2 separate regions of the Homo sapiens genome follow, and region 1 is linked to region 2. Evidence: promoter capture Hi-C in human tissues and cell types (Jung and others, 2019). All regions are on one chromosome and are shown on one strand. Each heading gives the region's core, a stretch centred on a gene start or on the middle of the fragment in contact. The rest is flanking DNA. Distances are from core to core; before and after follow the strand shown. Region 1 has its middle 9.5 kb from the start of GYG1. Region 2 holds the start of CP (ceruloplasmin).

The links. Contacts are between HindIII fragments. The study calls those that stand out against the background at their distance.
Region 1: a contact is called between a fragment that was not itself captured here and the fragment with the promoter of CP in region 2, in 1 of the 25 tissues and cell types used here (spleen).

What each region holds. Positions count from the first base shown.
Region 1 is chr3:148,979,311-148,984,792 of GRCh38, reverse strand. It overlaps the pseudogene UBQLN4P1. Among named protein-coding and RNA genes, the nearest start is that of GYG1, 9.5 kb to the left of the region's middle. The HindIII fragment of the contact is 7,031 bases long and covers 280-5,482 here.
Region 2 is chr3:149,218,360-149,223,671 of GRCh38, reverse strand. It overlaps CP (ceruloplasmin), which reads left to right and starts at 1,843. Exons shown (of 19, transcript NM_000096.4): 1 at 1,843-2,025. The coding sequence starts at 1,880. The HindIII fragment of the contact is 15,133 bases long and covers 1-5,312 here.

The DNA of each region.
Region 1 (5,482 bases), core at 2,546-5,045, 240 kb after region 2:
TGTGTGCATACACTCTTAAGTTGGGTGGGAAGTGGATTCCTTGTTGGTTTCTGGTTCAGAGTGCTCTCCCACCACCAGAGACAAGTGGGTAAAAAGGTCAGTCCATTGCAGGAATATATATCTGGGAGAGCTAGGTCCCTTGGAGCTCTGGATGCTGGGTAACCCAGAGGTAATGTGGGTACCCTTTCTGAAGCTGTCAGGGCTGTGACTAGCACCCTTATCACCCCTCACTGCCTTGTGGGAATAGTAGAGGGTTTTTTTCCTCCAGAGCCCCTGGCCTTTCAGTTCTTAACTATTTCCCTCCAGGCCAGAAAGTTTTCTTTGAGGAAGGAGAGGAGAGGGTGGCAATGATGCCTTTGATCTGGAATTGGACATTGCTCTGTCAGAGCACAGAGGAGGCTCATATCACCTCTTCCCTCTCCTACTTGGCCCAGCTGCTTGGAGGACCGACCCCATGGCTGAGAATATGACGGCAAGAGGAACAGAGTTTGCTCCAAGTGGGAAAGGGTCCCAAGCAGTCCAGAGAAGATGTCTGTGTGGCTTTCCCTCCCTGCCTCCCCCAGCTCCCACACTGGCCTTTGTAAATAAATGGCGTGGTCTTTGTTGTGAAAAAAAAAATTCATTTCTTTTTTATTGCCAAATAATATTTCATTATGGGTATACCACATTTTGTTTATCCATTCATTATGGATGAACATGTTGGTGGACATTTGGGTAGTTTCCACTCTGGCTGGTATGAATAATGCTGCTGTGAACATTTGTGTTCAAATTTTTGCATTGACATATTTTTTTTCCTAAATATATACAAAGAGTAGAATTGCTAGATCATGTGGTAATTCTATGTTTAACATTTTAGGAACTGCCAGACTGTTTTCCAGAACATCTGTATCATTTTTCATTTCCACCAGCAATGTATGATGGTTCAAATTTCTTCGTTTCTTAGCCAACATTTGTTGTTGTCTGAAGTGATATCTCGTTGTGATTCTTATTTGCATTTCTCTAGTGACTTTTGATATTGATTATCTTTTCATGTGCTTACTAACCATGTGTACAACTTCTTTGGAGAAATGTCTATTCAAACCCTTTGCTCACTTTTTAATTGGGTTTACTTTGTTATTGAGTTGTAAAATTTCTTTGTCTAGACGCAAATCTTTTATCAGCTATATGATTTGCAAATATATTCTCTCATTCTGCGAGTTAACTTTTCATATTCTTGGTAGTATTGTTTGTAGCATAGAAGTTTTAAATTTTGATATAGTCCAATTTATTTTTCTTCTGTTGCTTCTGTTTTTGGTGTCATACCTAGGAAACTATTGCCTAACCAAAAGTCATGAAGATTTACTCCTATGTTTTCTTCAGGAGTTTTGTAGTTTTAGCTTTTAAAATTATGTCCATAGTCCATTTTGAGTTAATTTTTGTTAAGTTTTTTATGTTGTGAAGTAGGAGTTCAGGTTTTTTCTTTTGTGTGTGAACATTGAGTTGTTCCAATACCATCTGTTGAAAAGACTATTCTTTTCCCACTGAATTGTCTTGGCACGATTATGAAAAATCAATTGATCATAAATGTGACTAAATTCAATTTCTGGAATCAATTCTATTTCATTGATTTATATGTCAATCCTAATGTTAGTTCCACACCATCTTGATTTCTGTAGCTTTCTAGTAACTTTGAAATTTGGAAATGTGAACGAATTTTGTTCTTCTGAGGGCCGGGCACCGTGGTTCACACCTGTAATCCTAGCATTTTGGGAGGCTGAGATGGGTGGATAACCTGAGGTCAGGAGTTTGAGACCAGCCTGCCAAAATGGCGAAACACCGTCGCTACTAAAAATATAAAAATTAGCCGGGTGTGGTGGCTACTCTGGAGGCTGAGGCAAGAAGAGAATCACTGAACCCAGGAGGCAGAGGTTGCAGTGAGCCGAGATCGTGCCACTGCACTCCAGCCTGGGTGACAGAGCAAGACCCCATTTCAAAAAAAATTTTTTTAAATAAATAAATAAAAATAAAATCTTAAAAAATTTTTTCTTCTTTTTCAAGATTGTTTTGGCTATTCTGGGTAATTTGCATTTCCATATGAATTTTAGGGTCAGTTTATAAGTTTCTGAAACAAAGAAAGCTGGGCTTTTGATAAGGATTTCATTGAATTTGTAGATCAGTTTGGGGAGTATTGCCAACTTAACAGCTTAAACCTGCTTTTTTTTTTTTTTGAGACAGAGTCTTGTTCTGTCACCCAGGCTAGAGTGCAGTGGCGCGATCTTGGCCCACTGCAACCTCTGCCTCCCAGGTTCAGGTAATTCTCCCTGCCTCAGCTTCCCAAGTAGCTGGGATTACAGGCACCTGGCACCATGCCCAGCTAATTTTTGTATTTTTAGTAGAGACAGGGTTTCACCATGCTGGCCAGGCTGGTCTTGAACTCCTGACCTCAGGTGATCCACCTGCCTTGAACTCTCAAAGTGCTGGGATTACAGGCATGAGCCACCGTGCCCAGCCTTACAGCTTATGCCTTCTAATCCATGAACATGGGATGTCTTTTTATTTACCGAGATAGTCTTCAGTTTCTTCCAATAATGCTTTGTAGTGCATTGCCTTTTTTTTTTTGAGATGGAGTCTCACTCTGTCGCCAGGCTGGAGTGCAGTGGCATGATCTCAGCTCACTGCAACCTCCGCCTCCTGGGTTCAAGTGATTTTCCTGCCACAGACTCCCGAGTAGCTGAGACCACAGGCGTGTGCCACCACACCCGGCTAATTTTTTATATTTTTAGTAGAGACGGGGTTTCTCTGTTAGCCAGGATGGTCTCGATCTCCTGACCTTGTGATCCACCCGCCCTGGCTTCCCAGAGTGCTGGGATTACAGGCGTGAGCCACTGTGCCCAGCCTGTGCATTGCCTTTTAAAACAGGTAACAAAACCCAAAATTGGGTCTGTTCGCTATATAAACCCCATGGGCATGACAACTGATTTTCATGTGTGTCAGATATTCTAAATTTATGCTGGTATCTAAAATCTGATTATCATGGAGCTTTATACATAGAGTAACATTGCTTTGGTCCTTCATAAGACAACTTTTACAAAACTGTACTTTGGCATTATCATTAGTAATAACTACCACTTAACCTGATACTAAGGTTCTTTTACATATTAACACATTTAACCTTTCCAGTGATCGAATGAGGCAGATATTCTGCAATCCCCACTTCAGAGATAAGGCACAGAGCTTGCCCACTATACTGTAACTGGTAGTTTGTACAGCTGTGATTTGAACCAGGGAGCCTGCTTCCCCAGTCTGTACAATTAAGCACTGTTTGGTAATATGTATGGGGTGTCCACTGCTCAAAAGCTGCAAAAGGGTATGTGTACAATGAAGTAACTCTTATCTGCCACCTTTGTCCTCCAGCCACCAGGTTCTCTTTCCTAGAGTGGCATTCTGTTCTTGGCTTTCTCTGTGGCTCTAAGGGTGCCTCAGAAATCTCACTATCATGGCTTTTCCAATGTGCCATTGAAGACATTCACTATGTTATGCAATTTCCTCTATTGAAAGATCCATGGGAAAATTGTCACACTGGTCATCATATCAAAAATAAATGTTGCATTTCCTTAACACTTAGATTTTTCTTTATTTCATAGAAACTTTGATGTTTATAAGTATATCAAACACATAGAATACATGTTTTCCTCTTTTGGGAGGCCAATTAGAAACTTGGAGCAAAATTTGTAGCCACTTCTAGTCATTATTTAGGCTCTCTACCCTGCATTTATTTATCTATGCTTTAACTTTTTTCCCATTATTATACTTGCCTCACTTATTTATGAAGTTGTTTGAGATCCTTTGGAAGTAGGAGGGAATGGGGAGTTAATTAGTAAATAATTAAATGATAAGAGGGTTTCTAGTGGGAGTAGAACGGAAAGATGAAATTCAGCTCAATTTCGGTGACTTTGGAGGTTTTTCTAGTGATTTGTTAGTAAAATGAATATTTCATAAATTAAAGAGGCATAGTTATTGATCCAGACACGGGAATAATTTTCTGTAATTAGTTAAAATCCTGGGCTGGGCCCAGGGGCCCACGCCTGTGATCCCAGCACTGTGGGAGACTGAGGCAGGAGGATTGCTTGAAACCAGCCTGGGTGACACTGCGAGACCCAGTCTCTACAAAAAATAAAAAATTAGCTGGGTGTGATAGGGTGTGATGGTGGGTGCCTATAATTCCTAGGGAGAGGTTTAGTTGGGAAGATTTTTTTTGAGCCCAGGAGCTTGAGATTATAGTGAGCTATGATAGTGCCATTGTCCTCCAGCTTGGGCAACAGAGCAAAAACCTTGTCTCTAAAAAAATAAAAAGAAAAATACAGTGAATGCTTGATCTTTTCATCTTACTTTTATTACGTGTTCTGCCGGTAATGTAATAACAACATGATAGTGGTCAAAAAGAAGGATAAGATTGTCCAGGATCTCTAACTCTCAGTCCTTCAAATATATTTCACCTTTCAAACTTTGGTTACCATATTTGTGATCTTTTAGTTCATGGGTTAAATCATTTGGCAGTTACTTTTTCTTTAAAATCAACTTTATTGAAATAAAATCTATATACAATAAAAGTCACTTTTTAAAAGTAAAAAATTCAATGAGCTGTGATAGATATAAACTATCACCACAGGTATAACCATCTCCACAATCATTCACAAAACTTCCCTCTCTGCCTTTATGGTTAATCCCATTCCCTGTCCCCTGGCAAATGTAGCTCTGATTTCTGTCCATATAGATTTGCCTTTTCAAGAATTTAATACAAATGTAATAAAAGAGTATGTAGTCTTTTGTGTCTGTTTTTTTTTCTCAGTGTAATGCTTTTGAGATTTATTCATGTTGTTGAACGTATCATTGGTTCATTCCTTTGTATTGCTGAGCAGAATTATTTTGTGTGCATATATCACAGTGTATTTATTCACTTGCCAGAAGATGGACATTTGCAGCACTGTTTGTGCCAATATAAGATATGCAAACAACCTAAATAACCGTTAATAGGGGTCAGGTTAAATAAACTATAATATATCCATGCAATAAAATACTATGCTATGCATCTGTAGAAAGCAATAATAATAATGACTGCTCTTAATGTCTATGATAGAATGTTCTCCAAACTATATTGTAAAAGAAAAAAATAAGGTACCTGCGACAGACTAGGAATAGAGGGGAACTTCCTCAACTCAATAAAAAACATCTACAAAAAACCTACAGCTAACATCATACTTAATGGTGACAAATTGGAAGCTTTGCTCCTATGATTAGGAACAAGGCAAGGCTGTTCTCTCTCAATGCTGCCTTTCAACATTGTGCTGAAAGTCCTAGCAACAAGAGGAGAAAATAAAATCAAAAGTATGCAGATTGGGAAGGAATAAGTAAAACTGGTTTTGTTAAAAAATGACATGATTATACAGAAAATTCAAAAGAGTAGACAAAATGACTCCTAGAACTAATAAGCAATTATAGCAAG
Region 2 (5,312 bases), core at 594-3,093:
TATGGCCGGTGGCATCTGAGCAAGATTTTAGTCCTTCGTCAGTCCTCTCAGTGGACATGACGGCACAATTGTTCAAGGCAGTCCTAGAAGGAGGCCTTGGGGCATCCTGGGCAACATGATTCAGTTTTCTGTACCAAGCCATTTAGTTAAGATTATTACCAGCTGGTGAGAGAAGCTCCTCCACTGTCTGCCTTAACATAGGTCATTTCAATTAACCTGAGATTTTCAGATGAGGAAACTGAAGCTGGGCTGAAGTATCTTACTTGAGGTCATTTGGTAGCATCAGATTTTTCCCTAGCACTCCTTATTCTCCTTCTCTGCTTTATTTTTCTCCATAGCATTCACCACTAATATTGTGTATTTCATTTTTCATTTTTATATTTTCAGTTTCCCCAAGTAGAATGTAAGTTGCATGATGGTAGGTGTTTTGTTCTCTGCGGTATTCCCAGTGAGTAGAACAGAACTTGGCACAGACTGCTGTATTCCCAGTGAGTAGAACAGAACTTGGCTCATTCAATAATATTTCCTAAATGAAGGAATTGTTCAAATATCGCATGCTTTCTTCTATACCAATCTATTTCAACAAGTGGCCTTCAGCAAATACACAACGTTTTGAGGTATTTGAGAGAAAAAAAATTATACTAACACAAAGTGTCAACTGTTATCAGGATTTTCTTCAGCTAAAAAAAAAAGCCATTTCATACTTTTAGACATATACTTCCTGACTAAAAACAGGGTTTTAAGAAAAAGTCTTCCACCTTAAAATTCATATCCACTTCAAAGAGAAAAATTTCAGTCTAATGATAAACTGGGGTACTTTCTATTTACTAAGACTAATCTTTGCCTCTGAAGACAGGTTTAGTTATGGTTTGTTTATTTGATGATTAAAACAAAGTTATTAGCCCCTGTTAGGCTCTGCTAGTTATTTGCATATAGCAATACAGAATGATCTGGTAAAGTTTTTATGCAGATTTGGTCCAAGCTCATAAAACAGATAAATTCTTCCAAATTAAATTCTTATTTTTGTTTACTTAAATTTGGCATGCTAGATATCATGTTTCATATCATAAAGCTGCAATTAATCATTTGTTAGACTTTTAGAAATAGTCATGCACCACATAATAATGTTTGAGTAAATGACAAACTGCATATGTGATGGTGGTCCCATAAGATTATAATAACATATTTTTACTGTACATTTTCTATGTTTGCATATGTATAGATACAGAAATATCATTGTGTTACAATTGTCTATAGCATTCAGCATAGTTATAGACTGTACAGGTTTGTAGCCTAGGAGCAATAGGTATACCATATAGCCTACCTAGATGTATAGTAGGCTATATCATATAAGTCTGTGTAAGTACACTCTGTGATAGTCACACAATGACAAAATAGCCTAACAATGCATTTCTCAGAACGTATCCCTGTCATTAAGAATGACTGTAGTAAAAAGCTACATGTTTTGATTCATTTTACATAATTCTTATCCTGATTTACTAAAAGTGCACTGTTTGCAGGACACTGTGCTGTGACATATTGTCAGAGGAACAAAGGGAGCATTTAGACACGTTCTCTGCCCTCCTGGAATTTACACAATGAATGGAAAAAGGCACAGAGTTATGCACACCCTAATGCCTCCAACAATAACTGTTGACTTTTTATTTTCAGTCAGAGAAGCCTGGCAACCAAGAACTGTTTTTTTGGTGGTTTACGAGAACTTAACTGAATTGGAAAATATTTGCTTTAATGAAACAATTTACTCTTGTGCAACACTAAATTGTGTCAATCAAGCAAATAAGGAAGAAAGTCTTATTTATAAAATTGCCTGCTCCTGATTTTACTTCATTTCTTCTCAGGCTCCAAGAAGGGGAAAAAAATGAAGATTTTGATACTTGGTATTTTTCTGTTTTTATGTAGTACCCCAGCCTGGGCGAAAGAAAAGCATTATTACATTGGAATTATTGAAACGACTTGGGATTATGCCTCTGACCATGGGGAAAAGAAACTTATTTCTGTTGACACGTAAGTCACTATTTTTATTGTTTATAGACCAAAATTTTAAGTTATTTTTAAAGGATAGAGCCAATAAGATGAAATATTTTTAAAATTTCTTATATACAGAAACTGCAAAATGTGGGCTTGAAACCCAAGACACTTGAATCAATCTCCTTTATATTCCTGTATATTTTTTATTTGGTGGACTACCCTGCTTCTTTCCTGTTGTTCCTGGGGATCTGTGTTCACATCTTACTACCTCCCATGGTCGTAACTGCATCTCCGATTAGGAATCTGTCTTTTTATGTGTTTATGCAGAAGTTCTTTCATTTAAACAATTACTGTATACAATGTTATGTTTATTGCACCATTTAATGGTTATTCATGATAGGCATAAAATTTTTTTATATCTTTCAAAACATCACTTATAGAAATAAAATACAATTTTAGCAAATAAGATCCTGCCTGATATTTATTGAGAGACTCCAGACAGTTAAGTAGGTTAATCTTTCACAGCTTCAGGGTCCTAATTTGTAAAATGAGGATAATAAGCATAGCTCATAGGGTTATTTAAAGAGCGGGTGCATGTAAAGCTCTTAGTACAATGCTTGGCACATATGTGCATAAAAAAATGTCAGGTACTTATTAGGATGGTCCTCAAAAAGCTCCATGTAACTTAAATGTCTTCATTTTTCAGTTGGAAAATCCCCTTATTGAAAGCAATATTCACTACACAGTAAAACAAAAAGTTTAGTTCTCCTTGAAGTTTTTTGTACAGAAGTTTATCTATACTGAGGTCTTCACTTTTAATGATGTTAATTAAACATTAACCACCAAATGGGAACTTGGAATTCAAAATCAATATTCACTACATTAAAATGTATTTCAGTGGTAATAAAACACAAACAAGCCCAATGACCATCAGCTGCCAAGATTATATCTTTAAAAAACAGCTAAATAAGGATGCCGAAGTTTGTAATTATTGAATCTTATTGATGAGTATATACTATTTTCTTTAACATTATGTAAAGTTGAAATTTTTCACCATAAAAATAAATACATAACAGATACTAATATCCAATTATTATATTATGAATTTAATAATATACAATAAAGAAAGTTTCTGACCTGAAGATAAGTGGTTGTAAATAAAACTAATACATCTTGTAATTATTTCTTTTTTAACCTGGTTTTAAGGTGGTATTATCTTCTAAGGAATATGACATATTTTTACAGCTTCACCAGAAACATTATTTTGCATGGATTCAGTATTTTCTTGATTAAATATAATATAAATTATATGTGGTTTTTATTTCCAAGGAAAAAGTCAGACACATTAAAAAAATAAAAATACTATCCTTCTCTATGCCCCCACTCACCACCACTCTGCCATTGTTCGTGATCAAAAATCAAATCAGCTTTATCAGGCATAAACTAAGTGCAAGACATTGCCCTGAATATGCTTCAAAAAAAAATCTTTAATTCTAAAAATCAGGGAGTAGAAGAGTGAAGGAGTTTGTTTAGAATTTGGTGAATGGGGGCGGAGGAAATTCCTTTGTTTTTAATTACTCCTGTGGCCTGTCTGTGCCAGGGAAGCTACCCAATGAGTATAAGCCTGTTTACCCCATTGTGACTATATTAGTCTCTTCTTATGCTGCTAATAGAGACATACTCAAGACTGAGTAATTTATAAAGAAAAAGAGGTTTAATGGACTCACAGTTCCACATGACTGGGGAGGCCTCACAATCATGGTGGAAGGCAAAGGAGGAGCAAAGGCATGTCTTACATTGCAAACTTTCCCATACCTTCCTGTCATCTGAGCCCTCCAAGTCTCTAGGAAGTTCCAAACTTTCCCACATCTTGCTATCTTCTTCTGAGCCCTCCAAACTATTCCAGCCTCTGCCTGCTACCCAATTCCAAAGTCACTTTCACATTTTTGGGTACCTTTACAGTAGTGCCCCACTCCAGGTACCAATTTACTGTATTAGTCTGTTCTTACACTGCTAATAAAGACATACTCAAGACTGGGTAATTTATAAAGAAAAAGAGGTTTAATGAACTTACAGTTCCACATGGCTGGGAAGGCCTCACAATCATGGCAGAAGGCAAAGGAGGAGCAAAGGCACGTCTTACATGGCAGCAGCCAAGAAAGAGCTTGTGCAGGGGAACTCTCATTTATAAAACCATCAGATCTCATGAGACTTATTCACTACCATGAGAACAATATGGGGGAAACCACATCCATGATTCAGTTACCTCCACCTGGCCCCCTCCCTTGACATGTGGGGATTATTACAATTCAAGGTGAGATTTGGGTGGGGACACAGCCAAACCATATCAGTTACTTAAAAAGTATACTTAATAGAGATACTTAAGGCTCCTTAAAAGGAAAAATGGAGCATCTTCTAGTTGCAAAGTCCACCTCTCTTTTTGTTATTGTCCTGTGACTTTAACATCTCCTCTGGCTTCAACAATATGCTACAGTTTTGCAAACTCTAGGTGGGACTGCTTTCTCTGTGATTTTTTTCCCCCATATATCTTACCAGTGAATTTTGAATACAGCTTCAGCAATTTTGCCAATACTATGCTAAACTTTTTGCATAGATGTGTGCAGATAGCAACCTTTTGGTCCCTTCTTTGTCCCAGATTTGCAGCATGTTTAGCCCAGTCAGTGAAGGATGATGGAGTATCACAAGACATGGTTGGCACTTCTTATCGTATGATGACTAAAAAGGAGTGGAAATAAATGGGCTGAAGAATAAGATGTGAAAGAGTGTAATATGAATTTTAGGTAAAGAATCGAGTTTAAGCTGAATGTTGATCTTGAAGGTCTGGGATGATGAACAGGAAAATATGCATTGAGAGTACTAGTATATGCATATGCAAGTACTAGTGCTTGGTCACTAGTACCTAGAATATAGGAGACACTAAATAAATATTTCTGAATAAGTTTAAATGAGTAAATAAAAGATACATAGGAAGATAGGAAAAATCATAGACTGTATTGTAAAAACTTTTCCTTGCTCCTCATGTGGAGAGATTCATGCTATAGAACAAATCAGGTAACAGAATAAGATAGAAAAGTCACCTGAGGGGATTATATGCAGGGTTAGTGCAACTGAAAACACTGGCAGATATTAAAAGAGAAAAATGTATAGGTTTTGGGGGGGACTAAAAAAATAAAGTTTACTTCTCTGGTATTAATGCCAATAATATTTATTTCTAAAAGAGTGAAGTGGAAAATAATTTCCTTATACTCAGTACTGCTATTTACTTGGGTCAGTGCCTTATCTGTCACTTCAACACATCAGTA